Regions from separate parts of the Homo sapiens genome. Here all the other regions are linked to region 2. Evidence: promoter capture Hi-C in 16 types of primary human blood cells and fetal thymus (Javierre and others, 2016). All regions are on one chromosome and are shown on one strand. Each heading gives the region's core, a stretch centred on a gene start or on the middle of the fragment in contact. The rest is flanking DNA. Distances are from core to core; before and after follow the strand shown.

What was found. Contacts are between HindIII fragments. The CHiCAGO score rates a contact against its expected background, and 5 or more counts as called.
Region 1: a fragment that was not itself captured here is called in contact with the fragment with the promoter of MIPEP in region 2 in 1 of 17 cell types (naive B cells); the score reaches 5.7 in naive B cells.
Region 3: a fragment that was not itself captured here is called in contact with the fragment with the promoter of MIPEP in region 2 in 1 of 17 cell types (activated CD4 T cells); the score reaches 5.9 in activated CD4 T cells.
Region 4: a contact is called between a fragment that was not itself captured here and the fragment with the promoter of MIPEP in region 2, in 7 of 17 cell types (naive CD8 T cells, total B cells, naive CD4 T cells and 4 more). The highest score is 8.0, in naive CD8 T cells.

Annotation. Positions count from the first base shown.
Region 1 is chr13:23,328,412-23,331,239 of GRCh38, forward strand. SACS (sacsin molecular chaperone) reads right to left here. Exons shown (of 10, transcript NM_014363.6): 10 at 419-2,828. The coding sequence ends at 1,725. Among named protein-coding and RNA genes, the nearest start is that of SACS-AS1, 89 kb to the right of the region's middle. The HindIII fragment of the contact is 209 bases long and covers 1,443-1,651 here.
Region 2 is chr13:23,887,968-23,890,707 of GRCh38, forward strand. MIPEP (mitochondrial intermediate peptidase) reads right to left here and starts at 1,433. Exons shown (of 19, transcript NM_005932.4): 1 at 1,165-1,433. The coding sequence starts at 1,353. It overlaps PCOTH (prostate and testis expressed opposite C1QTNF9B and MIPEP), which reads left to right and starts at 901. Exons shown (of 4, transcript NR_172510.1): 1 at 901-1,044; 2 at 2,033-2,075. RefSeq lists enhancers at 1,213-1,713, 1,773-1,832. The HindIII fragment of the contact is 13,692 bases long and covers 655-2,740 here.
Region 3 is chr13:23,347,686-23,350,558 of GRCh38, forward strand. All of the region lies in intron 9 of SACS (sacsin molecular chaperone), which reads right to left. Among named protein-coding and RNA genes, the nearest start is that of SACS-AS1, 70 kb to the right of the region's middle. The HindIII fragment of the contact is 897 bases long and covers 990-1,886 here.
Region 4 is chr13:23,364,261-23,366,997 of GRCh38, forward strand. SACS (sacsin molecular chaperone) reads right to left here. Exons shown (of 10, transcript NM_014363.6): 6 at 906-1,017. Among named protein-coding and RNA genes, the nearest start is that of SACS-AS1, 53 kb to the right of the region's middle. The HindIII fragment of the contact is 169 bases long and covers 1,391-1,559 here.

The DNA of each region.
Region 1 (2,828 bases), core at 297-2,796, 560 kb before region 2:
TTGTGCCTCAACTATAAAGATGAAGAACTCCTATCTGTCAGTAATAAAGTGTGAATTAGTCCCAGACATGCAGCTGTCCCTGAGGCAATGGAAATATCAATTCAGCTCTACCTAGAGGAAAAAAATATTTAATGTATCTGTTTCCAAACACATATATACCACATATATCAGCTAATCTGATTCCCTAAAAAGGTGACATAAACTCAACTAAATCAATGAGCACCTAAACCTAGTATATAACAAGCACTTCATATTCTATTAATCCTAAAAATCTATAATTCCAGCATGAAAATATACAGGAAAATATTTTCCTAATATTTCCAATAAATACACACATACACACACATTAAAACTTAATATTAAGATGTTAAGTTTGATTTCCAATGAACTATTTCTCAGGAAACACCCATTACGATGATTTCATATGTACATTTTCCTTTATTAAAAGTATGGCACTTTATATAACAGCAGAAATAATTACATGATTTCACATCCAGAAGCAATAAAATGTGGAGGTGCAAACATTCCTTATTCCCAATAAAAGTAAAAAAAGTTTCAACATGTTCTGTAAGCCCTTAATTGCATAAAGTATATTTAGCATCATTTACAGCCAGTACACTTATATAAACTAATTATCATTACCTTTTACATTCTGCAAAAGAAATATGTTAAAGTAAAGAAGCATGGCGAGACAAACATGAATTAAATGTCAGTTCTGATCATTCATGGGGAAATATAAGCCGATAATTATAAACTACTAGATAACACAATGATTTTAACAATTTTTGATGTTTTTAAAGTTAAAAAAACTCCACTACATGCCATATTGAAAGAAAAGGTTGTTTTTTTTTTAACTGCAGCACCTTTAGACAACAAAAGATTGCATCCTGTTCAACCACACTATATAAATTATAACATTTGTGGAAAATATGTACACACAAACATAAAGCAAGTGTTCTAACAGTTAATAAATGTTGTCTTGGCAAGCAGTTTCCAGAAACAATACTAACAACTGGTAATAAGAACTGCCACCATTTTGAGTTTTCCGTTGCTATCTTCATCAAACAGGAAGCCTGTAAACATAAGATGTTAAAAAAAAATTTAAATAAAGATGTAAAGTGCACTCAGTGCACTCTAAAAAGTACTACCTTCACACTCTTAGTCAAGTAATAGGATTAAAATACTCTACCATTTCTTAAATGCACTGAGTACAACATAAAATTACAACAAATTCATGATCAGAGCCAGCTGATGAGAAAATAACGCATCCAAGAGGATCCACTTAAAAAAATGACAGACTACAAAGACTTAATTCCCCTTATGTTTAAACCAATTATATGTCCAGTGTTTCATTAGCTCCTTCAAAAATACCATGTTAAAAACATAAAATTAACTTCATCCTAACCAGAGACATACATAGACTCTTATCTAACAAACTGCTAAGCTTTGGTTATATAAAGTGCAGTTCAATGATGTATCATCCCAATCATTCAAATCCATCCAGCTATTTTGCAGCTCACCACCATCTTCAAAATAGTTTTCTTTTAGATTCAGTTAAGGTTTTCCGTTGGTATTCATGTTCATAACAACTCCAGAATTCTCCAAGAACAATCTGCAATGTGCTTAACAATTCCTAGCTAATTGGCAATGAAGCTTAATGAAGTACAGCAATTTATTCGTGCTACAACACATTCAAGATCTACCTTTTTTTTCGTTAAATATCTTCACACTTTTTGTTGCATAAAATTTTCAAGTTTTATTATGATACAGGCAGTACATTCCATCACCCTCATAGCAACCTCAGAAGTGAACCTGTCATTTGGGATCTGAGGAAAGGGAAGCAAATCAGGGTATCTTGTTTTTAAACTGTCTACACCATAAGCTTCCAATGTGTGAACATCATTTGTCAGTCCTTCAAGTTGCTGACTATATTCCTCTATTTTCTGAGCAAGTGCAGTTGGTTTTACATCTTTATCAGACTTTCCCCTCACAGCATAGTCAGCTGCAATCAAAGCTAACTTGGTAGAAAGGTAACATTTAAAGCACACCCACTCATTGGCATTTTTATGAAGGTCATTCCTGGCAGCTGAGAAGTTTGCTCTGGCTTGTCTTAGCCATCTGCGTGCTTCCACTGGATTGCCAACCGACTTGAAAGTGGGAGGAACAAAGAACCTTTGAGAGTAAGTCTGTCCGGCTGAAGGGGGGCATTTTTCTTTGTTCTGTTGCTGTCTTTCAGATTTATGGCTCGTTGCTTCTTGATTCCATGAAGTATAGAATCTCTGAAATGAGTATTTGTCTGACTGAAATCGGGATGCTGAGGTTGAAAATGTTCGTCTGGAGGCCCTGTCTGCATTTTGATCTAGAAAAGCCTGTTTTTCTAATCTGTTGATTTCATTCTGCAAATGTTTAAAAACTTCATTGGCAATGTCATGGTTCTCTGGATTTTTGTCAGGATGCCATTTCAAATACAACCGCCTAATAATCTTTTTTCGTTCCGATTCTGGAAGCTTCCATGCTTGCTCCACCACAGATGTCACTTCTTTTAAGATTTCTGGTAAAGAATTAACCTTAAGCTTTTTGGGGGACTGATGTTTGGAAGAAGTCTTGTGGCTCTCTCTACCAGAGAAAAGAGGAGGAATGCTTCTCAGGCCAGGGGTGAGGAACTCAGTGGGGCTGGTTGGTGTAGAAGGAGCACTGTCCCTGCTTTGAGAGCTTTCCTCAGGTCTTGAAAACTTATACAGATCAAGAGAGCTAACTATTTTATATTCACTATAACCAATATCTATCTGATATATCTTTCCTAGAAAACTAGAATTGTCAGCATCTTC
Region 2 (2,740 bases), core at 183-2,682:
ATATTGCTCTCGGGAATTCTAACTATCGGATTACCAGTGACCATAATGCTAAAAAACTGAATAAGGCTTTTTTTTTTTCAAGGCAAAAATCAATTCTAAAATTTGAAAATCTGCTATCAGTGCCGAATATCATGATACAAAAAGGGAAAAATAAAAGCTAAAATTAGTTATATCTCATCCACCCAAAATCAGGCTTCCCCTCACGTCTTTCTGCTCAGCGCCTACAAGTAGGTCTCTTCACACCAACTATGTTAATACCAACACTACATACCCTTAAGGAAGGTGGTGTAGCAAATTTCACACAAAATAATTTTTAAATAGACAAAACTGATAATGGAGATAAAACAAGAATCACACACTTTAGCTCAGTGCAACAATACCCTAGACTTGTCTTTATAAGGCAATACAGTATAACGAAATTTTAAAAGGCAAAAATAAAAGTAATCCTTAACCTAAAACGGACAAAATGTACAAACTCCAAGTAGAACAGGCATCAGGTAAGTCCTTTCCAACCTTGCCTTCCTCTCACCTTTCACTAGACAACGCAGGCTAGTGACTTCCTGGGGTAAGAAATCAAAGTGACCAATTCCATGGCACTATGGGAAGTGAGACTCGTCTCAACAGAGTTTTGTGTTTTAAAACAAGAAAGCCCAAAGCTTTGAAATAAATTAATTAATAGATGATGGAATTTCAGGTATTAATGAAATTACCATTACTCGACTGCAGGCAGCCGTGTCCTTGCAAAAAGACCATGTGATGCCGCCTGTGAACGCACAGGGATAGGCCTCTTAAGGCAGGACTGTAGCGCTGGAGCTAAAGGGCTTTAGCAGGGGTGCGCCTGAGTGTATGCAGAGGGCGGGTCCTGGCAGGACGAATTCACCGCCACTGCCAGAACGAACTATTCAGATTCACGTGGAGCAAGGGGCTCATGCAGAAGCAGTTCCCGGACCCGACACTCTGGGTAGGAGACCACTAAACCCGGCCCCTCAAAGCAGAGGTGACCTTGCCCTCATCGAGAGCGCACACAAGACGCCACTGTAAAAGGTGGGTTCGCTGCTCGCCTCCTCCCAGGCCCAAACAATCTCGCCCTGATTGTTGCTGGCCGCGCGGAGCAGGGGTCGGCTTAGCTCGGGGACTGAGGGGAGCTCCTCCTGCGCCGCTCACCCGGCGCTCGCCGAACAGGTCCAAGCGGCTGCCCTGGGGCTTGACATTGAAGGCGGCGCCCACGGGAGACCAGCTGGTGCTGACCCTTCGGGCCCGGATCCCGGCTTCGAGGCTTCCCCGGCCCGCCCGGCGGGGCGGCAGAGCTGCTGCTCTGGCTCCCAAGCCGCCCAGCCTTCCGACGCACAGCATTCTAGCACCAGAGCAGTCCCTTCCTCCAACGCAGATCCCTGCCCTGCTGCTTTCGCTGGGAGCGCGCGCTCCGCGTTTCCAAGGCAGCAGCCCACGCCGCCCCACGTGACGGCCCCGCTTCCGGGTCTGGGCGCGGCCTCAGGACGTGGGCACGTTGTCGTCCAGAGAGCAAGAGCGTCGCTCCCCCTCGCCTTCTCGGCCGCCCTCCCGGTTTACCGCCCCCTGTGTCCAGAGTAAGAAAAGGCTAGGGTTGCGCTTCCCTCCCAAGTTGACTAGGGGTGGGCGCGAGTAAAATCATGACATATTCGAATTCCAGTGGACATTAGATATTCTTTGAGAGACGGCAGGTACTTGAGTAAACAAGAAATGCCCACCATAGGCCTGAAGGAGAAGTTTCCCTTTTAACCTACTCTCTTGGTAAATTTATCCTGCACTTCTCTGTTTGGTGTCTCTGTCCGGTAACTTTTTACTCTTGCATAGCTCAGTTAAAAATTTTAGATGGGAAATAGTGAAAGAAGTCTAATGGGATTTTCCCTCCAGGGTTTCAGAATTGCCTGGGACCCGTGAACCCTTTTTTCCTTCCCCTTTCTCTCTTTTGGAATGGATTGTCTACCCTATGCCTGTCTCCCCCTCCAACCCCCGGTCTTTTAGAAGTGGATTAACTCGTCTCGCTTCACAGGATCACAGATGGAGAGACATTTTGCCACACGATGAATCACACAGTAAGTCTCCTCTGTAGCTTATTTAAATGATGTAGATGGTGAGAGGAGTTGATGCGGAAAGTGTTAAGACTTTTGGTAATGTTGACATGGTGCGAAAATGTATTTTGCACATGAGAAGGAAATCAATTTTGGGAACCAGAGGGCAGATTGGGTTGAACTGTGTCTCCCAAAATAGATGCTGAAGTCCTAACCCTCGGTGCCTGTACATGTGACCTTATTTGAAAATATGGAGTTTGCAATTATGATTAAGATGGGTCATACTAGATTAGGGAAGCTGTTCTTGTAAGAAGAGGAAAATTTGGCTGATACAGGAGGAGGACAGCCACCTGAAGATGGAGGCGGGGACTGGAGTGATGCTGCCACCAGCTGCCAGAAGCTGGAAGCAGCAAGGCTGCATCCTCCTGTATCCCCTTTGGAGGGAGGATGGCCCTGCTGCTACGGTGATCTCAAACTTCCAGCCTACAGAACTGTGAGAAAGTCCGTTTCTGTTGTTTAAAGACTCCCAGTTTGTGTACTTTATTAGGGCGATCCTAGAAAACAAGTAGAGATTCATGTCTGGCAAATAATGATCAAACAATGATTTGTTGGATAGAATGGTGATTAAAACCTAGGTTAGAAAATGAGCAAAATGGGAGGGAAAGCACCAGGACAAATAGCTAATGCAT
Region 3 (2,873 bases), core at 188-2,687, 540 kb before region 2:
ACTTAAACAGGTACCAGTGTGTGAGTGCCATGGAGAACAGAGCATGGAAGCACACATGGGTTGCATGAAAGATGAGCAGAGGTAGTGAATGGAGGAGTTGGCAAGGAAGCCACATGTATCACACCTGAGGGAGGGACAGAACATGCTGTCCTCCAAACAGGAAAAAGCATGGAACTAAGGGAAGGAGATTAAAAATAGCAAATATCAATAGAACCTTCCATGTACCAGGCATCTTCATAACACCCAGAAAATGGAGCCAGCTAATGAAGTGCCTCATAGGAAAGGTTACGGATTTTGGTCTCATCTAATAAATAAGTATGAAAATTTTAAAAATTATAAATAAGACCCGACACCAAGCATCTGTACCACTAAACTGTTCTTGTTTCCTTTTTCTTCATCCAAAATCCATTTACCTGCTCTTCTAACTATTCTCCAATTTCTGATATCCATCCATTTACTTAAGCAACTTAATACAGAAATAATTCAGACCTGGAAATTAAAAAAACAAAAATCATAGCTTCAACTCTGCAACTCAAGCAAGTCATTTAAATCCCTCAATTTCTTTGAGCTTCAATGTCTCAATCTCTCAAATGGAGATACAGGCTCTATTATCTCATGGTTGTAAAGAATAAACAAGATTACAGAAGACACTGATTTGAAGAGAACTATTAACTCACAGACACTAAGAAAGAGATTTGCCTTTTGGCCTCTGCGCCCCATCTCCTCCATGCGGTCCCCACCCAGCCCAGCAGCTGAAGCATCAACTTATCCAGTCAAACTTGGCAAGCAGGCTCTCGGCCAGACCTTGGAAATATAAAAATAAAGATTGCCCTTGCTCTCAAGGATGTTGCAGTGTAGCACAGTAAAAACATGATTCTAATAAAGCAAAGAGGATCATATGGACTATGTACTGGGTTCCAAGAGCAAAAGAGAGGCATTCACCTCAGACTGCAGGGCAGGGGTGAGGCACAGGGCAAGATGTCAAAGAAAGCTTCCTGGAGGTGACACATGAGCTCAGTACTGAATGATGAATAAACATTAGCTGGGCAAAGTAGAGGATGGAAAGAAAGTATTCTAAGCAAAAGGAACACCATGTACAAAAGGGCAGCTATGAGAAAATTTTCATGCAGGAAAAAAAATACTGAGCACCTACACTGAAGTAGGCACTGTGCTAGATGGTGGTAACAAATCTGACAGGTCTCTCTGCTCTCATGAAATATAGGGAGGATTCAAGTTCATCAACCTACAAGTGCTTGTATAATTAGAACAGAAGAGGGCAATTAGAACAGAAGAGGGCGCTTGCATGCACCAAGGCCAGTGAGACAGCACTCCAAAATCATGGAAGTTTACAATCATGGAAAGTCCCCTAGTTCATGCTAGCAGGGCTAGATTTATCCTGATAGATTCAATGTCCACTGGAAAACCTGCAGCAGGAGGGTGACATGATCAGATGAAGCCCAAGCGCTGTAGACAGGGACATCAACTGCAAGAGTCCAGTAACAACATTACGAGAAATTAGAGGACCTGTAATAGGCAGTGGAGTAAGACCAAGGGACTGGCACAGAAAATTTAGTCAACAGATCCTGGAGACTGTGGGGAACAAAGAAGAAAATTTAAGGATTCATTCTTGAGCAATCTTGTGGACAGTAGTGTTATTTTCAGTGGGATCACTCAAAATGAGAAACAGATTTGGGGAGAGGATGAAGACTAAAGTTTTGCAATATTGATTTTGAAATACTTATGGGATTCCAAGTGCAAAATGCTAACAATAGCTACCATTTGTCAGTATTATATTAAGTGCCGGATATTATGTTAAACTATATGTATTACGTATTCATCATTCGATCTTCAGCATAATGCCTGCTGTGAGTAAAATATTACAATGAAGCTTTCAATAACCTGATCTGCTGCAATAACACAAACTTGGATACAACTCAACTGGCAAGGTGTGGTTGCTCCCATCCTCTGCTCAATCCTTATTTCATTATCCTTGCAGTGAAGCAATCCTGAATTTTCTGTAATCAAATCCTGGGGACCTTGAGATATACCCTTAGAAGGATAGTACTGTATTACCATGTTACTGATGAGGAAACAGGGGCTCAGAGAGGGTAGAAAATTTGTTCAAAGTCACACAATAGAGGAGTGAAGTTTAAGCCCAGATCTGGGTAACTACAAAATCCAGGTTTTTAATCTCTGCTACACTACCTCTCTGAAGACTAGGGTGGTGACTGAAGATATGGTGGTCACTAACACTTTCATGGGAGTGGATGAATGTATTCAAGGAAAGGAACAAAGTAAAAGAGCTGAGGAAGGAGCCCCCACACTAACACGTATTTAGGGAGTGAAGTGAGGAACAGAGGTTCACAAATAATTCTGAGAAGCAGGCAAAATCAGTGAATGCCAAGAAGGAATGGTATCATCATGGCTGAGGGCTTCAAAGAGGAATACCAAGCTTCTGGGAGATCAGGTAAAAGAAACAGAAAAATCCACTGAGCTGAGTAACAGAAAAATCATTAACTAGTGACGTCAGCCAGACTATTTTAGTGGAATGACAGTGGAAGCAAAAGTCTGTTTGGAGTGATAATAAATAAGGAGGAAGTACAGACAATAAGACAACTCTTTCCGGAAGCTGGACTATGATAGAATACAAGAAAGAAAATCAAGGTGGAGGTCTGTTTTGTTTTTCCTGAAATGAAATATAGTGAAACATATTTAACTGCTAATAAAAGGGGCAGTAGAAGTAAACACTAAAAATACAAGCAGTAGCTCAATATTTAGCTAAGGATTTTAAATGTAATACAAGGAAAAGGTACAATTATTAAATAATGTGACAAATTTTGTTTGAGCTACAGAATTAGAGGAAAAGTTTCCAT
Region 4 (2,737 bases), core at 225-2,724, 520 kb before region 2:
TTGATCCCACTTTTTCTCAGTAACTTTCTGTCACATACAGTCATTGACAATGACTTCAGAGGTATACTAAATTGAAGTGATGTGATCTCGGCTCACTACAACCTCCGCCTCCCGAGTTCAAGCGATTCTCCGGCCTCAGCCTCCTGAGTAGCTGGGATTACAGGCGTCTGCCACCACGCCCAGCTAATTTTTATATTTTTAGTAGAGACGGGGTTTTGCCACGTTCGCCAGGCTGGTCCCAAACTCCTGACCTCAGGTGATCTGCCCACCTCAGCCTCCCAAAGTGCTAGGATTACAGGCGTGAGCCACCGCACCCAGCCAGAGGTATACTACAATTTATGAACATTCTTTTTGACACCAAAGCTCCCCGGAGTAGAAGTGAGATATTAGGAGTCTATTGGTTAGGGTTCTTATTGGATTAATAATTTATTAGTTTATGGCTTTCTTATCATGTTTCCTTTCATTTTCCTTGTTCTCTCCTCTCCTTCAATCTTTCTTCCCACCCAACTTCCAAACAATGTCGAGGGTACTCCTAAAGCGGAAAATACACAAAAGCATGGCCTTTCACAACATCTTTCCAAATGCAGGAAAGTGTTACTATACATAAATGGTGTCCCTTTATCCTACTGATAATATAAAATACAAGTTGTTTGAATAGAATAAGAGGCTTTGGTCATTACATTGCTTGTCATTTTGAGTTTTCAGATTTTATTCTTTGTTCTCTAAAAATACCAACTGGTGGAGACACCTTCCCACCAAAAGCAGAGAAAAACATCTGAAGAAGTGGACATAAACATGCCAAAAAGTACAAATGATAGACTGTTCATTAAACAAAGCATTATTAATCATTAAAAACTGCCTGTTAGTGCATACAATAAAATTTGTTCCTAATTATTGATTCTTACCCTGATATGGCGCCATATCTTTTGACCAAAGAGTCTCTGTTCCGTATTGAGTTTCATCATATAAAAATTTAACTTCTGTCGCCCCAGCATCTTCTGCATTCTGAATTAATTCCTAACCAAAAAATATACCAAAAAATAGTAATTAATAACACAGTAATCTACTGCTCATCTTTGTATTTATCTATAATATTTAAGAAGTTAATATACTTAAATAAAGGAAACCCACTATTTGCAACATTACCTTTAAGATCTGGTGAGGCTACTACTGAAAGTAATTGTTACATAGATGTGACAGTATGGTTGAAAAGTCCTTCTCCAATTATTTGCACTTAAATTTTGTCTTTTAATTTGCTATCACTTAGCAAATTAATCCTGGGCCCTATTTATAACTGTCTCATATTTACAATCTACCCAAAGCTTTTGTTCAAAGGAAATTATTCTATTTCCAAAAGCTGCACATATCGTCCTGTGTGGCAGGTAACTTAAGCTTGAGTGATTGCCAAAAATAGACCTTTTTTATCCTTTGCTTACTAAACTTACCTTTCCACAGAAAAACAATAAAACCAAATAGTAGCAATCTATATATACCCTTCAATTGGCTGCTTTCTTGAGAGCCTGAGATATAAAAATGTCTTTGTCCTGCACTAAACTGAAAGCTTCCAGATGGTCAGGACTGACTCATTCCTTTCATCAAGAAGAAAGCACTACCATTTGTTTGGTGAATGGTGGGTGAGTGGAAGGGTGACCAGCTCCCCGTAATGTAGAAAGGAAAGGGCAAACTGCAAGATTTGCCTCAACAAAATTTCCAATCCTAACAACCCCAATCACTTCTGCACACCTACTAAAATCACGCTGGGCTCCGTTCAGTTTGAAGGGAGCTCCAGAATCTGAATCAAGAATCAGCTCCTAGATCCAACCCCATGATCATCAAAAGAGCTTTTTTACTTCCCCAGAGCCTTGGGATCACTAAATTGGAGGTACAGATGGGCAAAAATTGAAGAGCACTTTAACTGATACTACAACAATGTCAACAGTGATGCCTACATCAGAGTAGAGAGGTGGTACGATGACTACATGAAACAAAATAACTACAAGGAGACTGAGGGAGCAGAAGTGAAAAGTCAGTTCTGAGATTGTGCTCAGTTCACCCAGTGCATCCCAAAGGGCTGGAGTGTGGTACCCACCAGCTGTTCCACCCCAAACATGAACAGCTAAGTCGTGCCTCCTGCAGCCTCATTATCAGCTAGTGATTCTTCCTTGTTACGTAACTAACTATTTCTCATGGGATTTTAATTTTTTAGGCCTCATTCAATCCCAGAGAATCCCTAAAAATTAACAATCTTATTTACATTAGGATATTATAATAATATGAAGGATGGAAATAAGAATTAAATAGGTAGTGAAAAACAATGTTAACTTACAAAATGATAGCACTTTAGATGTTCGACCTTGTTTTCATTCAGGTATCTATTTATTATTTATGTGTACTTTAGGGAGCAGAGAGGCAGAAAACTAAAGATAAAATCTAAGTCCCAGGTTCCACTCATTCTCAAGTTGAATAAAAAATAGGATAGGAAGCTTTTCCCCTAAATTGCAATCCTGAGAGATTGTTTGTAAACTAACTCTGGGAAACAGCAACAATACATTTTGTATTTGGTCTTGGGCAAGCCACTAAGATCTCTGGACCTGTTTCAGCAAACACAAATACCATAGAAGGTGGTGGTGTAGGTCTTGGTGATTTCTAAGACTCCTATTAAATCTAAAACAGTCTAATTCTACCACAACATCCAAGGAACAAAGATTACATTGAACTGGCTACAATACAAATATAT